Linked DNA regions of Homo sapiens: all the other regions are linked to region 3. Evidence: promoter capture Hi-C in 16 types of primary human blood cells and fetal thymus (Javierre and others, 2016). All regions are on one chromosome and are shown on one strand. Each heading gives the region's core, a stretch centred on a gene start or on the middle of the fragment in contact. The rest is flanking DNA. Distances are from core to core; before and after follow the strand shown.

Evidence for each region. Contacts are between HindIII fragments. The CHiCAGO score rates a contact against its expected background, and 5 or more counts as called.
Region 1: a contact is called between the fragment with the promoter of H3C2 here and a fragment that was not itself captured in region 3, in 1 of 17 cell types (naive CD4 T cells). The highest score is 5.4, in naive CD4 T cells.
Region 2: the fragment with the promoter of H2BC8 here is called in contact with a fragment that was not itself captured in region 3 in 1 of 17 cell types (M0 macrophages); the score reaches 5.3 in M0 macrophages.

Annotation. Positions count from the first base shown.
Region 1 is chr6:26,029,783-26,033,586 of GRCh38, forward strand. H3C2 (H3 clustered histone 2) reads right to left here and starts at 2,317. Exons shown (of 1, transcript NM_003537.4): 1 at 1,807-2,317. The coding sequence starts at 2,278. The coding sequence ends at 1,868. It overlaps H2AC4 (H2A clustered histone 4), which reads right to left. Exons shown (of 1, transcript NM_003513.3): 1 at 3,310-3,804. The coding sequence starts at 3,786. The coding sequence ends at 3,394. RefSeq lists enhancers at 1,954-2,183, 2,224-2,343, 3,281-3,804 and a silencer at 3,694-3,793. The HindIII fragment of the contact is 2,287 bases long and covers 2,295-3,804 here.
Region 2 is chr6:26,215,342-26,219,785 of GRCh38, forward strand. It overlaps H2BC8 (H2B clustered histone 8), which reads right to left and starts at 1,347. Exons shown (of 1, transcript NM_003518.4): 1 at 859-1,347. The coding sequence starts at 1,302. The coding sequence ends at 922. H2AC8 (H2A clustered histone 8) reads left to right here and starts at 1,580. Exons shown (of 1, transcript NM_021052.4): 1 at 1,580-2,096. The coding sequence starts at 1,634. The coding sequence ends at 2,026. It also overlaps the pseudogene H3C5P. RefSeq lists enhancers at 461-590, 641-730, 811-1,160, 1,072-1,723, 1,591-2,010 and 2 more. The HindIII fragment of the contact is 5,797 bases long and covers 1-1,919 here.
Region 3 is chr6:26,472,824-26,476,682 of GRCh38, forward strand. LOC285819 (a long non-coding RNA gene) reads right to left here. Exons shown (of 4, transcript NR_038992.1): 3 at 3,329-3,859. It also overlaps a transcript of BTN2A1 not described here. Among named protein-coding and RNA genes, the nearest start is that of BTN2A1, 17 kb to the left of the region's middle. RefSeq lists an enhancer at 1,012-1,061. The HindIII fragment of the contact is 1,320 bases long and covers 1,350-2,669 here.

The sequences.
Region 1 (3,804 bases), core at 1,067-3,566, 440 kb before region 3:
CAACACCCCCTTTTTGTCTCCAATCTCTCCTTAATTACTCCTCTAATACAAAACAATAGATTCTTAATATAATATTAAAATGTTTGCACTACTCACAAATACAAAATGCTCAATAAATTTTCTTTCACAAATGAGAATTTCATCCATTCGTTAATTTTTAAATATCAACTGTCAATGAAGAGTTACAGCAGAATCCTTGTTCTGTTGAGGAGGGGGCAAAGAATGTAAGTGAGGGAGTGGAAAATAGCTGGACTGAGCTACCACCCCCTGTCCATCTGATCCTCAGACAGTAATGTAACTTTATTCTTTTATGCTATTCGTCAGACCCAGTACCTCCAACACATTTGTTTCCTACAGATAAAGAAAATATAAAAAGTCAAGCGCTATACATCAGATCCAGCACATCTATAACTGGAAAAAAAATACTTGACCTTCAGCTGGGCCCAGAGCTTGTGAGTAGTCACCTTGGCATAGACCAAGTCCATTGGCATCTCTAACATATCTATACTGTCTGTGGATAACAAATGTCTATGCCAGTTAGAGTCGCTTGTATAAGAGTCAAGAAAAACGAATCATAAAACAAACTGACATATTCATTTTCATAATTTTTAAAATGCAAATATTACTTTATAAACCAAAAACTGCCTTATTAAAAGCTGGAACACAAATGAATTTAAGTAAACGATGCAATTCAAATTTAATCTTTTGTGTGTGTGATTTGTTGTTGTTGACAGTTGGTCAGGCGATTTTAGTATGGTACATCAGTTTACATTCTAGATGTAGGCCAAGAAAGAATGTTAGGTGTAAAAAATATTTATTGTAAAAAAGAATGTGAGGCAAGGTCTTTGGAATTAGTAGTTTTAATGTTGGACATTCTGTGGTTGTTCTAAAGTTAGTCTGTAAAATGTGATGTAAAAGCTATATGATAAAAAAATACAAAATATAAAAATTTTAAAGTAAATATTACTTTTGTTTGCGTACAGTATTCCCATCCCTCTAAATTTTCTTCCAGTACTCAATCCCCAACCTCCAAAACCGAAAAGCAAGATCAACAGAAAGAAAATGGTTAAAACTTGTAAATTCTAGATTTTAATAACTACAGGCAAGAAGTACTGAAAAAAAGAATGTGGCATGTCATGGTGCATAGTCCTAGAGGAGACAAAGCAATGCAACCAGATAGACTATTTACAAGCAAAGCCACACATATAAAAATTCATATATAAGGGATTAAATTATGCTTGGTCGACAGACTGACAGATTTAAAGTGGGTAGCTAGCTATGGATAAAATGAGAGCCAGTTAGATCCCTGCCTCACATTTTGCACCAGAATAAATTTCAGGTTAATGTTAACAGCCAAATGAATTTAACAGTATATATATATATATATATATATATAATATATGAGAAAACCTAGGGGACTATGTATTGAGCTGAGAAAATCTTCCTAAGCATTTTGAGGAAGACACTGGAACTCGCAAGACACAATTTTCTAATCTTTTCAAAGCTTTGCAAAAATGCCTAGTAAGCGCCAGTTAACTACTTACCAGATTTTTCCCTTACTCTTACAAAGTTGTTTAAACAAATGCTAATCATAGCAAGCTAGAGGCCTGAATGATAGTGGACTTACACAGCTTCTCTCCAAATAGCACCTTAATAAGGTCAGAAATAACCTACACTGCAAGACTGACCAAACCGTTATTTCTGTTAATCAACTTTAAGACCATAGTCTAATGCTTTCCGGGGGGGTCCTTAGAAATTTGTTCTGTTAAGACAACAAAAAATTATCACAGCTACTTTCGTTGGAATAAGTGGGTGGCTCTGAAAAGAGCCTTTGGGTTTTAAGACTGATGAAAAAGTGACTTTACATTTACGCTCTTTCTCCGCGAATGCGGCGAGCGAGCTGGATGTCTTTGGGCATAATAGTCACTCGCTTAGCATGGATGGCGCAAAGGTTTGTGTCCTCAAAGAGCCCTACCAAGTAGGCCTCACAAGCCTCCTGCAGCGCCATCACCGCAGAGCTCTGGAAGCGAAGATCGGTCTTGAAGTCTTGGGCGATTTCTCGCACCAGGCGCTGGAACGGCAGCTTCCGAATCAGCAACTCGGTCGACTTTTGGTAGCGGCGGATCTCGCGCAGAGCCACAGTGCCCGGGCGGTAACGGTGAGGCTTTTTCACGCCGCCGGTAGCCGGCGCGCTCTTGCGAGCAGCCTTGGTAGCCAGCTGCTTGCGTGGCGCTTTACCGCCGGTGGATTTCCGAGCTGTCTGTTTAGTACGAGCCATGGCAAAACCACAGAAAAGCTTGCCTGCAGAGACGTCTGTGGAGGAAAGGAAAGAGCTACTCTTCTTTTATAGAGTCAGACCACCAACTATTGGACCCAAGAAAATTCAAAAATCCCCGCGCCCTTCTTGGATTGGTCCATCTCTGTGCCTGGTTGCAGATTAAGAGAGGCTCCTGCCCATTACCGTAGCTACTCTGACGTCATTTTGTTAACCCCTTAGCTGCTATATCCACTGTGGACAAGTCTTGTACTGGAAAAGTTTCCTGAAGTCTTAAAATTTACAACCACACAAAGCAACGCGGAAACCTCCAATTGTTTCTAGTTAAAATATAAAAAAGAAATCAGAGAATATTGGAGACGATTAGGGAAATTTGCATATGCGCTTTATTTAAAATTGTATTTTTCTGGGTGTCGCATAAGAAGTGTGGGCAATTAGAAAAATGCTCTTAGCCGGGCGTGGCGGCTCTCGCCTGTAATCCCAGCTACTCAGAAGGCTGTCAAGAGGATCGCTTGAGCCCGAGTTCGAGGTTACAGTGAGCTGTTATCACGCCGCTGCACTGCAGCTTGGGCGAGAGGGAGACTCCACCCCAAAACAAAGCAAAACATCCCCAAACTGGAAAAAAGCTCATTTTGGGAAATACATACTCAAATGTTCAGTGGTAATGTGTGTGCTCTCAATTGTGTATGCCATTAATTGCTACAGCAAATGGTATGACATATTCAAACTTGTGTGGGGCATGCGGGTTTTAACACTTCCATTCAAGATAGTTAGGAATGCACTCATGGGTATAATTTCCTTCCTCTAAAATGTAGTAACTGCTGTGTGTGAAACTTAACGCGAATCACCCCTGTAAACATGTTTTGTGCTGCATGGCACTTCTCCCACATACCTAGAATTCCTGAGGTTTCTATGGATCTAATTTCTGCAGGACAAATTACTAAAAGTGCCACACTCAAAGCCATTAAAAACACCTCAAAAACATCTTTATGGGCGGCATAATCCAAAGCACAACAGCTCATTTAATGGAAGTCGTAGGTGGCTCTGAAAAGAGCCTTTGCTGTTAGGCTGATTTTGTCTGCTGACAGAAAAACAGCAGTGCATGAAGCGTTAACTCTTCACTTTCCCTTGGCCTTATGATGGCTCTCAGTTTTCTTAGGCAGCAGCACCGCCTGAATATTAGGCAAAACGCCACCCTGCGCGATGGTCACACGCCCCAAGAGTTTATTAAGCTCCTCGTCATTGCGGATGGCCAATTGCAGGTGGCGCGGGATGATGCGGGTCTTCTTGTTGTCGCGGGCCGCATTGCCCGCCAGCTCCAGGATCTCGGCGGTCAGGTACTCAAGCACCGCCGCGAGATACACCGGCGCGCCAGCCCCGACGCGCTCGGAGTAGTTGCCTTTGCGGAGCAGGCGGTGCACTCGGCCCACAGGAAACTGCAAACCTGCACGAGAAGACCGAGTCTTAGCCTTGGCGCGAGCTTTACCGCCTTGTTTGCCGCGACCAGACATAACTACTTCTGATAAGGG
Region 2 (4,444 bases), core at 97-2,596, 260 kb before region 3:
TTGTTTGTATTTTTTTAGTAGAGACAGGGTTTCACAGTGTTAGCCAGGATGGTCTCGACCTCCTGACCTCGTGATCCGCCCGTCTCGGCCTCCCAAAGTGATGGGATTAGAGGCGTGAGCCACCGCGCACGGCGGAAAACGAGATTTTTTAGATCAACTTTACATTGCCAATGCCCATGGTATTCCCTCCACAACAAACTCCACAAGAGTGCTCAGAAAAGTCAAACTTGTTATCAGGTGATCTTTAGGGACCCAAAGACTACTCTTCCTACCCTTTCCAGTGTTGCCCAGGCTGGAATTGCACTAGCGTATTCACATGTTCCTGCAGTCTCTAGCCCGAGAGTTTAAGCTATCCTACCACCTCAGCCTACCGAGTAAATGATAGTACAGACGCAAGCCGTCACACCTGGTTAGCTTCATTTTTTTGCAGAGACGAGTTCTATGTTGCCCAGGCAAATCTGTTAACTCCTGAGCTGAAGAAAGCCTCATGCATCGACCTCCCAAAGTGCTAGGATTACAGGATCTTGCCAACACAGAACAGGAGTATCTCCTGATCAATTTTTTTTGAGACGAAGCCTCGCCTTTGTCGCCCAGGCTAGAATGCAAAAGCGCCATGTCTTTTCACTGCAACCTTTGCTTGCTGGGTTTAAGTGATTCTCCTGCGGCAGCCTCCCGAGTCTCTGGGATGACACGCGACTGCCCCACGCCCGGCTAATATTTGTATTTTTAGTAGAAACGAGATTTAACCACGTTAGCCAAACTGGTCTCGATCCGCACGCCTCGGCCTCCCAAAGTGCTGGGATTACAAAATCGGAAAAATTATTCCCTAGAAAACGGTGAAATTCAATATTAAAGCTCTTTATGTGAGACTTGAGTGGCTCTGAAAAGAGCCTTTGAGTTTTAAAGCACCTAAGCACACATTTACTTGGAGCTTGTATACTTGGTGACAGCCTTGGTACCTTCGGACACTGCGTGCTTGGCCAGCTCTCCGGGAAGCAGCAGACGCACGGCGGTCTGGATCTCCCTGGAGGTAATGGTCGAGCGCTTGTTGTAGTGGGCCAGACGGGAAGCCTCGCCTGCGATGCGTTCGAAGATGTCGTTAACGAAGGAATTCATGATGCCCATGGCCTTGGATGAGATGCCAGTATCGGGGTGAACCTGTTTTAGCACCTTGTACACATACACGGAGTAGCTCTCCTTACGACTGCGCTTGCGCTTCTTGCCATCCTTCTTCTGCGCCTTGGTCACAGCCTTCTTGGAACCCTTCTTCGGAGCAGGAGCTGACTTAGCTGGTTCAGGCATGCTGTCAGAAAACAATAACAGCAGTGAGAATGAACGCACTTAAATAAAAGCTCGTGTCTAGAGTCTCTCCTTTTATAGGCCTTTCATGCAAATAAAGAATTCAAAATATCCAGCTCTGATTGGGCAATGTGTTAGTGACGCATACATGTAAAATAGCCTTCACCTTATTTCCTTTCTAATTGGTTGGCTCGTCAAAGAACAATTTTAACCAATCAAATTGCGCCTTTCACAATTCTACCGATGACTATAACTAGCTTCTTATTCCTCCATCGAGCCCATTCTTTTTCTTTATTCAGTGGATTGTTAGTTCTTCTGCTGTTAGGAAGCCACTATGTCTGGACGTGGAAAGCAAGGCGGCAAAGCTCGGGCAAAAGCTAAAACGCGTTCTTCCAGGGCCGGTCTTCAGTTTCCAGTTGGCCGTGTGCACCGCCTCCTCCGCAAAGGCAACTACTCCGAACGAGTCGGGGCCGGCGCTCCAGTGTACCTGGCAGCGGTGCTGGAATATCTGACGGCCGAGATCTTAGAGCTAGCTGGCAACGCGGCTCGCGACAATAAGAAGACCCGCATCATCCCGCGCCACCTGCAGCTAGCCATCCGCAACGACGAGGAGCTAAATAAGCTTCTAGGTCGCGTGACCATCGCGCAGGGCGGTGTCCTGCCCAACATCCAGGCCGTATTGCTGCCTAAGAAGACGGAGAGCCACCATAAGGCCAAGGGCAAGTGAAATGATTACTAGTCAAATCCGTCAGTGATCCCGAGTCCCAGAAACCAAAGGCTCTTTTCAGAGCCACCCACCTTTTCTGTAAAGTGCTGGAATACACATACGATGCCTGAAATCTCAATGTTCACTGTCCTAATTTTTAACGAACGCTTCTGACGTTACTGGTCAGTTCTTTATTGAAATCCTTGCTCACATTTCATGCACTAATTTATCTTACTGGTGTTTCTTTGCAGTAAAAATGCGTTTATAAAGGTATACAAGAATAGAAACCGAGGTTGTGACACCAAGGTTTCACTGCGTTATTTTGTGTATAGGTCCATGCTGTGTATACAAATTTATCATTAATACACAGGCTGTTTATTCATGTGCACTTGTCAGAAAAGGGTGAAATATTAATACAGAAACGAGAGAACAAAGAAGGATAGCTGCCCATTAGCATTTCAGGGCGGGCTTTTTAAGTTTTAAAGATGACTGCATTCCGGCTGGGCTCAGTGGCTCATGCCTGTAATCCCAACACTTTGGGAGGCCAAGGAGGGCGGATCATAGGGTCAGGAGTTCGAAATCAGCCTGCCCAACATAATGAAAGCCCGTCTCTACTAAACAAATACAAAAAGTAGCCGGGCGTGGTGGTGTGCATCTGTAGTCCCAGCAACTTGGGAGGCTGAGGCAGGAGAATCGCTTGACTCCGGGAGGCAGAGGCTGCAGTGAGCCGAGATCACGCTATTGCACTCCAGCCTGGGTAACAGAGCAAGACTACGTCTCAAAAAAAAAAAAAAAAAAAAAGACTACATTCCTCTAGTGAGAATTGTGTTTGTTGGATTTCTCTTTTCAAAAGGAGCAATTAACACAGTATTCTAAAATAAACACTAAACGAAACTAAGCAGTAACGGCCTGACGCCCTAGGTCAGACCTGTAATCCCAGCAATTTGAAAGACTAAGGCAGAAGAATCGCTTGAGCCCAGGAGATCAAGACCAGCCTGGGCAATAAAGCGAGACAGCCCCCTCACCTCCACAAAAAGTAAAAAGCCTGCCCTGCCCGGTGGCTCATGCCTATAATCCCAGCACTTTGGGAGGCCGAGATGGGCGGATCACTTGAGGTCAGGAGTTCGAGGCCAGCCTGGCCAACGTGGCAAAACCCTGTTTCTACTAAACATACAAAAAAATTAGCCAGGCATGGCGGTGGGCTCCTGAAATCCCAGCTACTCGGGAGGCTGAGGCAGGAGAATCGCTTGAACCCGGGAGGCGGGGGTTGCAGTGAGCCAAGATCATGCCATTGCACTCCAGCCTGGACAATAGAGCGAGACTCCGTCGTCTCAAAAAAAAAAAAGAAAAGAAAAGAAAAAGCCTGGCCTGGTGGCTCAGTCTGAGATCTTAGATACTTGGGAGAATTACGCGGGGAAGGATTGATTGAGCCCAGGAGTTCGAAGCTGCAGCGAGCTATGGGGGGCAAAGCAAGATCCTGTTTAGGAAAGGAAAAAAAAAAAAAAACAAAAAAAACCCAGCAGCAAAAACTTAGTTTTATGACCTAAATTTATAAATGGACTACACTGTAAAGCACAATTAATTATTCAACTTTAGTAGAAATCCAGTCACATTTCTCTGTAAAAAATCTCAAATCTAATTGGATCACACACCAGGCCCTATAAAGAGAAGTGATCTGTAAATCTGATATGAAAGGTCATGGCCTGCACCAAGCCAACCACACGGAAGTCCACTGGTGGCAGACAGCCTCCTAAGCAGCTGGCCACCAAGGCAGCCAGCAAGAGCACTCTGGCCACCAGCAGCTTGAAGGTGTCCCTCAGATATAGGCCCTGAATCATGCTGAAATTCATCGCTACCAGAAGTCACTGAGCTACTTAAGGGAAAAGCTGCCCTTTCTTAAATGTTAGGACAAGGTTGCTGAATGAGATTATTAAAAAAATTAATGCCCCTAGGGTTCTAAATAATTGCAGTTATATGTGTTCCACTGAACAGAAGTTATTGGCATCACAAATAATTTGCATCAAAAATAATTTCTGGTGATACAAATAACAGAAATTATTTGCATCACCAGACAAAAGCCTCCAAGAAGTAACTTCGATAGTTTGATACCTTTAATCAATGGTAAATTGTGAGATGATGTAAGCACATTTCCCTGCAAACTTTGTAAAAACTATAAATTTTTTATAGTGGGATACATTCTTCCCCCTCCCTTTTTTCCTCACAAGTCTTACAATGTTTCTTAAATAAAATTTTCACTAAAACACGATTAAAATATAGCAATTGCAAGATAAATGTCTATGAAGCCCCATAGTATAACTCCCTGACATTCTTTACTCAATCAAATTGGGGCTCAGAAACAATACCCCAAAATGAAGGCCAAAGAAGCAACCTCAGAAGCAAAATTTTTCTGTGACTTTCTCCTGCCCTCTTGTCTCTCAG
Region 3 (3,859 bases), core at 760-3,259:
GGGGATGCTGGCACCCCTACCTGAAGGCAGGAAAGCTCCCCCTGTGTGGCTGGGTCCAGGCCTGTTTTATGGACTCAGAATGGGAAGTGTGTGCTGAATGGTTTGTGAGTATGCAAAAAAGGTTAAAGTGAAGACACCACTCAAAGATGGCCACAACAGTGTAAAAAAACAATTAGGAAAGTGTGGGTATATGGAAAGTAGTTGAAGGGTGGGGACCAATCAGAGGAAAGTGCACCAAACAGGAAGACAAGTTCTCAACAAGTTCTCAATTTGGGCTGAGGATTTACCTTGTAGTTTGGCTTTCAGGCTTTAAACTGTCTTCAGCTTGGAGGTGGGGTATCACTGGGGACCCATTGCTACCTGCCTAGGCATCTGACTGCCTCCTGTCTGCTATCACTAGGTCCCAAGGTTTGTAGCAAGGACCCCTTACAAAGACATCCCCCACAGTCTACCCAAAGGTTAACCTTAGAACATATTTCATTGTCAGAGTGAGAAACAAATACACATGAAAATACAGTATGGCACAAATAAGGAGCAAGAGGTGAAGAAAGCTTCAGTCACACCCAAAATAATTTTGTGAAAAATATAAAATATGCAGTTATAGACAGCACTAACTCTGGATACCAGAAAATTCTATAATTCGGTAATGGATCTGAGACCTGAATTTTGGAGGTACTAAAATAGATGCAATAGATCTAGTTTTCATTATGTTCATACTTTCATTTGGCTCTGTGGTAAAAGATGATAATATCCAAAACAAAAGATGATAATATCCTCCATGTAACAATTACATGCAAGGGGATGTCTGCAAACTGCCACAGTATCATTTTAATTAATACCTATCTTCTCTTCTTAAAATCTTTTCATTTTTCCACTCAGTTCTCCTGATATTTCTGTTATGATATAAAAGACAGCTGAATGTGAAGAAACACTGATTGTACACGTAACACACACATTAATGATTCAAATATGTAAACACAGAGAGCTGCAAACACTTTGAGAGGTAGGGCTGAAACTTTTCGTCAATGTGTACAATTCAATATCGTTTCAGTTTTCATTCTAACCGTCCCCAGTGGCTTCTGCCCAGCAACTGATGAGAAATGGTACCTCTGAGCCAATCAAAACACGAATTCCTACAAAGAGGATTCTCTTAGTGTTTCTCGGACCGAGTGTACAGCACATGCTTTCTTTTCCTTTATTCTGGATCAGAGAATCTTAACTAAAGCAGAAATAATTGTGTTAAATTAAACTAAATTTGGTATGAGATATGTATACATTTAGCCTGAGGGATGGCTCTTGAGCCCTTAAATAATGAACTGCAACCTAACTTAGTATGTAAACTAACTGAAAGCTTAAGGCATGGGAGTATACTTTTGTAACAAATAGCTGAGTCTCAGCCAATCCCAGTAGCCGAACTTCAGTCGGCGGCAGTCAACCCTGCAGCCAAGTGATCAGACTATGTTCAAATAAGGCCAACTCTGAGCTGTAACCAATTAAGCTGTTTCTGTGTGTCACTTCCCTTGTGGAATGGAGCTCACTGAACCTCTCTGATGGCTGCCCGATCGTTCTGATGGTTTGCAAATTGTTCTTTGTTCAAATTAAACCCTGCTAAATTTAATTTGTCTAAAGTTTTTATTAACAACAGAAAACTATTGATTACCTTTTTTTGTGGGCTATGATTTTCAGATAGGAATATTAAGGAGTAAGTGGGGAAAATTGCTTAGAGCCAGGGCTACAAGGCCTGGAAGAAAAGGGACTGAAAAGCTGAGAGGGGAACTGGCACAGAGAAAGGGGTGAGGATGGAGAGGGTAGAATGCAAAGAGTAAGGACCTGAAGAGGCTGAGATTTGGCTGAAGAGGGACAACCTGAATAGAGAAACCTTCCAACTGCATGTTCTTAGGAACTAATTACAGTCAGAAAGGAGCAAAGACTCCTTTTTTTTTTTTTTGTCAGAGTCTCACTGTTGCCCAGGCTGGAGTGCAGTGACACAATCTCGGCTCACTGCAGCATCCACCTTCCCAGCCAAGCAATTCTCTGGCCTCAGCCTCCGGAGTAGCTGGGAATACAGGCATACGCCACCACACCTGGCAAATTTTTTGTATTTTTAATAGAGACGGGGTTTCACCATGTTGGCCAGGCTGGCCGGCCAGGCTGGTACTGAACTCCTGACCTCAAGTGATCCACCCACCTTGGCCTCCCAAAGTGCTGTGATTACAGGCATGAGCCACTGCCCCCAGCCAGGAGACGAAAAGACTCCTAAAATATCTCCTGGTTATGTTTAGGAACATATTCCAAAAGGTTCTAAAAAGAGATGTGCCTTAAAGATTCATATGTATATTGTAAATTTTCAACTCCATATTTTCTAGATGTCCCCAACATCCCCACAACAGCCCGTCAACACCCTGCCCAGGTGACCAAGTACACCAGTGCAACAGGGCTGGTTCCTGCCTGCTTGCCCTTGCTTAACTGTGACCTAGTGACCTCCTCCCATCTTTTGATCTTTATTCCTCTAGTTCACTTCCTTTGTCACTATCTCTCCACCCACACCTACTTGCCTTAATCACCTTAACAGCAAAGGCTGAATTATTGTAAACAAAAGGAGTCTGTCTTTTTAGTGCATGGGTCCCCAAGTATGTATATATGAATATGCAATGAACCCCAGGATACTAAGCTTCACTTAAGGATTTTTTCCTACAAGGACTCAGCTGTCACATTTGGGGGCATTTTGTTTTGTTTTGTGAATGTTTAACCAAGCTAATGGAGGAACTATTGGTACAATGAACTCAAAAAATGTACAGGATCAGCAGGGCATAGTGGCTCACGCCTGTAATTTCAGCACTTTGAGAGGCTGAGTTGGGAGGATCACTTGAGCCCAAAAGTTCAAGATCAGACTGGGAAACATAGTGAGACTTCATCTCTAAAAAATTAAAATAAAATAAAATAAATACAAGGAAAAAAGAAAAATGTACTGGATTGAGGGGAAAAATTTATGATGCAAACAGAAGAGCATTTATGATTGAAGTGAGAGAAGGATAATGGGGGAGGATGGTGAAAGAACATCAATCTAAATTTATATTTAAATTTACATGAATCCAGTGCAGGCAGCATCTCAGGGGAGGGAGGAGTCTATTTTTCTGTTGATTTCCTGGGCTAAATTCCTGACTGACTCATTGCTGAAAGTAAATAACATATTATTATAGTTGAAAGATTTTTTTTTAGTGTAGTGATTTCAAACTGTGCTCATTTATATGCAACCCATGAACGCCTCCCTTCTCCTATGTCTCCTTTTGAGTTGTAGGGCCAGTTTGAAGCTTTATATATCATTTACCAAACTTAGGGTGGTGAGTGGGTGCTGATGGCAGCCTGGTTTGAAAATCTCCACTGGAGAGAAGACACAGCAGGATTCAGATGCAAATGACCAGAGCACTCCAAGTTGGAAAGAACTGCTGAGCGGGTCTGTAGAGCCCATCGCTCTCTCCTGTCTATTCATCAGCTAGGCTGAAGCTCCTGACAGACTCACACCAGTATCTTGCTGCTCCAGAAAGGTCGAAGATGGCAGTTTTCCCAAACTCCGGCTTGCCCAGATGTCTGCTCACCCTCATTCTTCTCCAGCTGCCCAAGCTGGTTTCAGATAGGTCTCTCTCTCTGGCCTGCAGAGTTAAAACATCTCAATAAATATAAAGTATAAAAAGAAGCTGGAGCCCAACCACTTCGGCACATGTTCACAGGATCTCGGGGCTGTGTCACAAGCCACTGGGCACTCATATCTGGCTGAGAATAAATCTCTTGCAATATTTTACAGAGTTTGACTCTTTTTGTTTGACAAAATAAATTCAACTCATAACTGCTGAGTTTGGGC